Regions from separate parts of the Homo sapiens genome. Here regions 1 and 3 are each linked to region 2. The links are contacts of gene promoters, found by promoter capture Hi-C in human tissues and cell types (Jung and others, 2019). All regions are on one chromosome and are shown on one strand. The core of a region is centred on a gene start or on the middle of the fragment in contact, and the rest is flanking DNA. Distances in the headings are between cores, read along the strand shown.

Region 1 (2,700 bases), core at 64-2,563, 1.1 Mb before region 2:
ATACCTATGAATGGACAATAATTTGATGCAGAAAGCTTAAATTCTACTGTGTGGTGCATGGTAGTACACACATTTTTATCACCTGCAATTTCTCTGCTTGTGAGTCCTTTCATCAGAGTGGGTAAACATAAATCTATATGCTTTTAAATTGGCAGTTAAGAAAACCTGTTAATATGCACTGCTGCATATTCTTCCAGAAATCTAAGTATGTTTGACGAAGTGCTGTAACTGTAGGTTAAGATGGATAAGGCAGGATGTGGTTGTGTTTTCAGGGGTCATTTGGAAGCAGTGTTCAGACATAATGTTATTTGAATGTGTTTAAACCACTTCTGTATTTCAAGATTTTATTAGTTTTCTCAGGCTGCTATAAACACACACACACACATACACACACACACACACACACACACACACACACACACACATACACACAGATTGGGTGGCTTAGACCACAGTTAATTTTCTCACTGTTGTAAATGCTGGAATTGTCACATCAGGGTGTCAGCAGGGTTGGTTTCTTGTGAGGCCTCTCTCCTTAGCTTGCAGACGGCACCTTCCCCCTGTGTCCTCACGTGGTGTGTCTTCTGTGCACACATATCTCTGGTGTCTGTGTCCATATTTCCTCTTTCTGTAAGGACGCCATTCATACTGGACTGGGGTCATATGGATGGGGGCCCAACCATATGACCTCATTTGACCTTACTTACCTCTTTAAAGACCCTATCTCCAAATACATTTTCATTCTGGGGTGCTGAGGGTTTAATGTAAACTTTGGGGGACAATAACATATAAAAAGAAATGTGATTTTACTTAGGAAAAAGGCCAGTGGTATGAATGAGTGGATCTAGAAAGTGCCTCGAGCAGTCACCCTCATCTTCCCCCAGCACTGTAATCAATGTGTATTATCTAGTGGGAAGAAACACAGGCTTCAGAGCCTGGTTCTAATCCAACTTCACAGCCCTAGATGAGACGCTGAATGGCCCCGAAGCAGTTTATCAACTCAGAAGAGAGGGTCACAGCAGCCACGGCCTCGAGCCACCGTGAGGAAAGACCGCGATCACACAGCACGCAACACCGCTCCCAGCTGGTGGGTGCCACTCAAGGTGTGCCAGCTACACACCATCTTACCATTCACCGTGACTGTTGTTAGCAGCACCCACACTTCATGCTTCTGATTGAGTGAGTTTCTGTAGCATCGTCTCCTCTGGGCTTGCTACTCACTTTGTATTGTAAAGTCCCGAAAGGAGCTTTTGATCATCAACAAATACTTTTCTTTTTCTTTCACTTTTTCTTTTTCTTTTTGTGAGACAGAGTCTTGCTCTGTCGCCCTGGCTGAAGTGCAGTGGCATGCTCTTGCCTCACTGCAGCCTCCAACTCCTGGGTTCAAGCGATTCTCCTGTCTCACCCTCCCAAGTAGCTGAGATTACAGGCGTGCACTACCACACCCAGCTAATTTTTGTATTTTTAGTAGAGATGGGGTTTCACCATGTTGGACACGCTGGTCTCGAACTCCTGACCTCAGGTGATCTACCCATTTTGGCCTCCTGCAGTACTAGGATTACAGGCATGAGGCACTGCGCCCGGCCAACAAATTCTTTTTATTGTAGTCTTCGTGAGCTTGTGTAGTCTGGCTGCCTTAGGCTTAGTTCAAGTCCCCACTTTTTTCTTTGTCATTTATTCTAAGCCCATGTTTAGTTGAGAAACTACCAGACGTTGGCTTCCCTGATGCCCTCGTTCCAAGGTGACCTGAGAATTCCTAGTAGATTGGCAGCTGGGAGCCCCATTCTATCCAGCCTACTTCACCCCCTCTTCAGTCATTGAAAATCCTTTCCTCATTCTCTCTTTTTTTTAAATGGAGGTAAAATTCCTATAACATAAAACTATCCATGTTAGTACCTCAAAAAATTAAAAACAGAATTCTGTGATCCAACAATTCAATTTCCAGGCAAATATCCAAAAGGACCGAAAGCAGAGACTCAGAGAGATTTGTACACCCATGTTCACAGCAGCGTTATTCACAATAGCTAAAAAGTAGAAGCTACCCAGGTGTCCATCCAGGGACAAATGGACAAACAGAATGTGGTGTACTCATGCAAGGGAATATTATTCAGCCACAAAAGGAAGGAAATTCTGACACATGTGACACAAATGGACAAATCCTGTACAATTCCACTTACATGAGGCACGTGGGAGTCAAATGCATAGAGACGGAAAATGAATGGAGGTTGCCAGGGTCTGGTGGAGGTGAGAATGGGTACAGAGTTTCAGATTTGCAAAATGAAAGAACTCTGGAGATGGATGGTGACCATGGACTTCCACGTCAGCCTATCCTGTACCCCTAAACAAGGCTGGTCACCCATCACATCTCTTGAAAGTCATCACACCCATTCTGTCCTGAATGTTGGGAACCTACCACTTGTTCTTGACACTCTTCCCTCTCTCCTATCAGTTGGTCACCAATTTGTATGCTTTTTGCTTCCTCACTGTTCTTCAAACCCCTCCACAGATTCACCACCACCCTAGTTCAGTCTGCTGACCTCTCTCCTAGGACTGCAGCCACAGCCTCCCTGGAGCCCCTGACACCTGCTTCTCCCCCACTCACATCTCTTTCCCACCACGGGATTTGTTTCATATGAACATAAACATGGTGGTGACCTCTGCCACCCTCCCACCCCTGGCTTCCTGCTGTGGGTTTAATTG
Region 2 (2,700 bases), core at 165-2,664:
CCCTAAAATAACCTCAAAATTCACAGCTATAGTAAAGCTAACTGTAATAAACACCAGCTTAAAAAAATCAAACTTAATAAATAAGCCTATTTATAGATTGTAAACGTTTGTTGAACGATTATTTGAATTGTTGAAATCATTAAAGGTTTCAAAGAGATCCTCATCCCCCAAATGTTAAGTTTTAAATAAACTTAACGAAATAATTGTGTATGTATACTGTAAAGCCCTACACCATATAACCTAAAAGCAGGTTACTTTATTTACGCCTCTTTTACTAGCAATTAAACTGAAAACCTTGAGTGTGAATGTTGTAAGAGATCAAAGTTTTCAAGACTTGCCCTAGGAAAACACCAGTTTCTCCCACCATTTGCCCCTTTTAAGTGTTTAAAACCATCTCAGAGAAAATAGTGAGACCTCGTATCTTTTTTTGTGTATTAAAATCTTTTACACTTAAAACTCAGAAATCAAGTGCCTCAACCATTACAGCAACTCTTTATTAATGCACTTTGTGTGGCTCTGGGTGTTATACTCCACAAATAAGGAACCAACTTCTAATTGTGAAGCGAGATATCAAAGTCCTAGAAAGAACAAGCTCTCCTAACCAACTAGAAGGTTCCAGGAAAATGCAATTAAACAGGAAGCAATGAAGTTAAAAGCTAATGGAAACTGTTAACTAGGCTGAGTGTTGCTCACATGTAGGGAGTCGGTCACCCGCTTCCTCAGCGTACATGTTACAGGGCTGTGAGCGAACACTCACGCGTGGACCTGCATACATCCAACTCCAAAGCTCTGAGGCGTGAAGCCCAACTCCAAGGGCGCTCCACACGGTCCCTGTTCCAGGAAAACTGAATACAGCTGCTCGTGCCACTTGGCCCGCAAGACGGGAGGCGAGTCTGAGGCCCACTGCGTCCTCCAGAAACTACCCTTGCAAGGGCTGTTTCAGAGCCCCCCACCCACAGCCCAGCAGACCCCAAAAGCTTCTGGGGAAACTCAACCCCACCCGCTGCTACGCCCCCTTCCCTCGCTCCCACCCGAGGATCAGCTCCCCCGGATAGGGACGACTTCCCCTTCCAACAGTGCATCAGAGGGCTCGTCAGGCCTCACCCACCTTGCACTCGTCGCTCTTTTTTTCTTCGTCGCAGAAGTTGACGGGCGCCAGGCCGGGCAGGTAGAAAGCGCCGCTCCGGCGCGGGCCAGGAACCGCCCCCAGCAGGAGCAGCGACAGCAGCAACAGCCGCGGCCACCGAGGTGGAGACAACACCGGCAGCCTCGCGCTCATGATAGTTGTTTCGGGGAAAGGGCAATCAAACCTAGGGGGTCAAGAGGGAAGGAGGGGTGGGGAGTCTCGGAGACGACTACAAGGCCGCCAGAGATAAAGGAAGCCGGCCCCCAGAAGGCTAGTTCCGGTTGCGCTAGGAGACACCCCGGGTCCCGCAACAGAAACCGAAGCGGACCGCAACAGAGCATGCGCACCGCCGTCTGCACATGCTCAGTGAGAACGGTCGCAGGCACCAGGAGGAGTTTCCGGGAGGGAGCGGGGGCGAAATCCACTTTCCGGGTTTTCCGCGCGCCAGCTGAGGTGGTTGCTGGGAGAGGTGGTTGCTGGGAGAGCTGTTCCGGCGCTCACGTTCCAATTCCAAATTACAAATTCCGATCTAGAGCTCCCACGCTTGGGGGCTGTGGAGCGCTCGCCAGCCGCTCCCCGTTTGCTGCTGGGTCTTACGAAGTTCTCATATCCATCATACAGTTTCTTTGTCACACTGTCCGCGGCACGCCAGTCCCTATGACAGAAAGCACCTGCGGTCTGTCTGGAGGCGGAGTTGGTGGCGGAGAGAAAAAGTTCTGGAGACACCTGGTTGGGAGCAGGCTAAGGAAACAAATGGGGAGGAATTAGCCACAAATCCTCAAATAGACAGCTACTCAAAGGCATCTTCACGGACAATTTCCAAGCATTGGATGCAGTGGTGCATTCTTGCATTGGGCAGTGATTGTGTGCACACATCTCTTTAAGGGAGAGTGGAAATGGGGTGAGGAGGAAAATGGGAGTAGGATAGAGTGTAGCGTTGACATTTATTTTCTTTAAAGGAAGACCCGAGCATACCTGAGAGCTCAGTGAAGAAAGTAGTTCTGGCGAATCGGATTAATATGGTATGATCAGCCTTTAGCAAGATTCTATCACTTTTCCCACTGATGATGTGAGACGGTGTCCGCGTGTGTAAGTGCACACACGTGTGTGTGTGTGTGTGTTGCATCTTCTGAGTATTTTTCAAGGAGAAGCTTTTTAGTGATCTGAAAAAGTCAATTCAGTTAGCCACTAGAGTTCAATCAAAAACTTCGGAAGAGTGCATCATCTTAAAGTACATAAGAGAGAATCATGACCTCCAGCTCAGAATTCAAGAATAGGCAGGTTTGTGAAATAGTAAGCTCAGAAAGTTGAGGGCCAGTGAACTCCTATTTCAAGTTCTTGCGGGTGTTTGTACTTTTTTCCCAGGTAAGGTTTATAACTTTCATCAGATTTTCAAAGGGACCTAGGACCCTGCAAATTGATCCATATAGTGGGGTAGCCAAGTTAATCAAGAGAACTGGGAAGTAGAAAAGAACGTTCATCTTAAGGTTGTTGTGAAGATTAAATCAAAAATGGAGGGAAAGTGCTGAGCACATAGCTTGGCCCAAGGAATGGCACTTTTTTTTTTTTTTTTG
Region 3 (2,700 bases), core at 34-2,533, 1.1 Mb before region 2:
TGTTATCCACCATTGGCCATCCTCTAGGGTGTTGGGAGCACTCAGAAGTGAGCAAGAATGGCCTTGGGGCTAATGACATGGATAGTACTAGGTCCATGCCCCAAGTTCAGGGACTTCACTCAAAGGAGCCCCCTCAGTCTACACTTGGAGCCATGGATTCTTTCTTTTTATATAATGCTAATCGACTTGAAGATCTGGTTTCCTATCCCTGAGCAGACCAGATTCAATCAATTAGGAGTTACTCTGCCTCCTTCACTTTAAAAATCCAAACGTCTTTTAAGAAATGATGGTGTTAGGCACAGAAAGGCAAATATCACATGCTCTCACTCATGGGGGATCTGGAAAAATGGACCTCGTGGAACTAGAGAGCAGAACAGTAGTTCCTAGGGGCTGGGAAGGGGGCGGGGATAAAGATAGGCTGGTTAATGGGTACAAACACAGATAGGAGTCAGTTCTAGTGTTCCACTGCACAGTAGGGTGACTGTAGTTAACACTTTATGATATATTTCACAAGAACTAGAAGATGTGAAATGTTCCTAACGTAAAGAAATGATCAATATTTGAGGCGATGGTTGTCTTAAGTACCTTAATTTGATCACTACACATTGTATGCATGTATCAAAGTATCACATGCACCCCATCAATATGTACAGTTATGTGTCAGTAAAAATATGTTAATGATGGTGTTAATTTGATCATGGTGTAGAGCAGAGATATATGGTTGTTTCTAGGGAAAATATAGAATGTATACTTCAATGTGATAAATTCTCAGTTATGAAAGTGTTACTGTCATCCTCTTATTTTGCAGATTTGTTTGGGTATAACTGGTATCTGGGAAAAAATTAAAACTAGGTTTTAGATGGTTTTACAGAAGTTAATCAAAAGCTGTTTATGTGTTGTGTCAGAAATGTGCTGAATTGCAGTGGCTTTGCCACTGATAACGTCGTGTGTGTGTGTGTGTGTGTGTGTGTGTGTGTGTGTGTGTATTACATGATCTACACAGATTTTCTTAAGTAGTTTATTCATAATTGTCATGTGCTGTGCACATAAACCCTGTTAGTTATAGAGAGAAGCTAAAATGCGAGTACAACATTAACATGTCTTTTATTTTTCCATTTTTCACTCCCAGGTAATTTAGCCCAAGCTGAAGCAGTTGGAAGAGAGGCACTGGAATTAATACCTAATGATCACTCTCTCATGTTCTCGTTGGCAAACGTGCTGGGGAAATCCCAGAAATACAAGGTGCGTAAACCGCAGGCTGTGAGTTCTTGCAGTTAGTGCCAGCATCTGACAGAAGACGTAAGTGTTACTTCTGCCCAGTTAAATTAGGAATCAGGCCAAAACAGTGGCAGTGGTGCACCAATGTGGCTTGGCCAGTTTGTTTCCTGGAAAAGTTGCTTCAAAGACAGCGGTGTGGGGCCAAACCCAGTGTCCTTTCTCATCAGAATTAACCACTGTGGTTCACACGTGGAGAGAGGAAGAGAAGCCCAAGGAAGGGGTGGGAGCAGGCAGGGAGTTGTGGAATGTTTGGCCTCAGAGGCCGGGCAGGCTGGTGCAGGAGGAGGACTCAGGGCAGCCACAGTGCATCCCCGGAGGTGCCCCTGCCCCAGCCCCACCCTAGCACAACAGGGTTTGACTCTGTCACTTGCACATGGGCTGGAGCTCTAGGTTTTATCTGCAGGTTCCATCTTCTGCACAAAAGAATAACCAGCCCATGGAGGATGCATGACTGGTTCTTGCTGCTTCCAGGTTTTTCTTTATCTGAGTTATATAGGCCACCAGCAAGGCCCAGAGTTTTCTGACCAACAAAAACCACAAGATACTAAATCTTTGCTCCAGTTGGCAGCCAGGGTGGAGCAGGAATAGGCTATGCATAACTCCCTGTGTGTTGAAGGGGACTGGTTGTAAACTTTAATTTTGTCTATCAGAATCACTGAGGAAGCTTGTTAAAGTAGAGATGCCCAGATTCTCCCCAGAAGGGATTGGCTTCGTGGGTTAGGTCAGGTCAGGGAATATGCATTTTTTTGTTGTTTTTTTATTTTTTTTGTTTTTTTTGAGACGGAGTCTCGCTCTTTCGCCCAGGCTGGAGTGCAGTGGCGCCATCTCGGCTCTCTGCAAGCTCCGCCTCCCGGGTTCACGCCATTCTCCTGCCTCAGCCTCCCGAGTGGCTGGGACTATAGGCGCCCGCCACCACGCCCGGCTAATGTTTTGTATTTTTAGAAGAGACAGGGTTTCACCGTGTTAGCCAGGATGGTCTTGATCTCCTGACCTTGTGATCCACCCTCCTCGGCTTCCCAAAGTGCTGAGATTACAGGCATGAGCCACCACGCCCAGCTGGAATATGCATTTTTAGCTGGCATCCTGGGTGTTAAACACAGATATCACAGAAGCAGTGCCTTAGTCGTTTCTTAAGAGAAATACCTTTATTTCAGAATCAGGGGCTATATCTTATTTCAATCACTCAGCCTATGTATAAGACCTAAAGGCAGCAACTAGCTAATATCTGTCCAGTGTTATTCACTTCTCTTTTTCTGTTTATTACATGTCATTATCAGTATAATTTTCAATAACAATGGTAAGATAATTTCATGCATATCTCTAGTTTTATAATGTTGGGGAGTTGAATAGCTTCACTATGCATTTTTTAAATTTCTAGATTTTACTCCAGAAATAGCTTTTTGAAGAGGGCTTAGTTTTAGT

What was found. Contacts are between HindIII fragments. The study calls those that stand out against the background at their distance.
Region 1: a fragment that was not itself captured here is called in contact with the fragment with the promoter of TM9SF2 in region 2 in 1 of the 25 tissues and cell types used here (dorsolateral prefrontal cortex).
Region 3: a fragment that was not itself captured here is called in contact with the fragment with the promoter of TM9SF2 in region 2 in 1 of the 25 tissues and cell types used here (dorsolateral prefrontal cortex).

The regions. Positions count from the first base shown.
Region 1 is chr13:100,627,753-100,630,452 of GRCh38, reverse strand. All of the region lies in intron 12 of TMTC4 (transmembrane O-mannosyltransferase targeting cadherins 4), which reads left to right. Among named protein-coding and RNA genes, the nearest start is that of GGACT, 40 kb to the right of the region's middle. The HindIII fragment of the contact is 3,249 bases long and covers 1-2,700 here.
Region 2 is chr13:99,500,186-99,502,885 of GRCh38, reverse strand. It overlaps TM9SF2 (transmembrane 9 superfamily member 2), which reads right to left and starts at 1,414. Exons shown (of 17, transcript NM_004800.3): 1 at 1,109-1,414. The coding sequence starts at 1,279. It overlaps LINC00449 (long intergenic non-protein coding RNA 449), which reads left to right and starts at 1,823. Exons shown (of 2, transcript NR_133664.1): 1 at 1,823-2,491. RefSeq lists enhancers at 1,034-1,622, 1,529-1,708. The HindIII fragment of the contact is 7,318 bases long and covers 484-2,700 here.
Region 3 is chr13:100,610,940-100,613,639 of GRCh38, reverse strand. TMTC4 (transmembrane O-mannosyltransferase targeting cadherins 4) reads left to right here. Exons shown (of 19, transcript NM_032813.5): 17 at 1,130-1,242. Among named protein-coding and RNA genes, the nearest start is that of GGACT, 24 kb to the right of the region's middle. The HindIII fragment of the contact is 6,599 bases long and covers 1-2,700 here.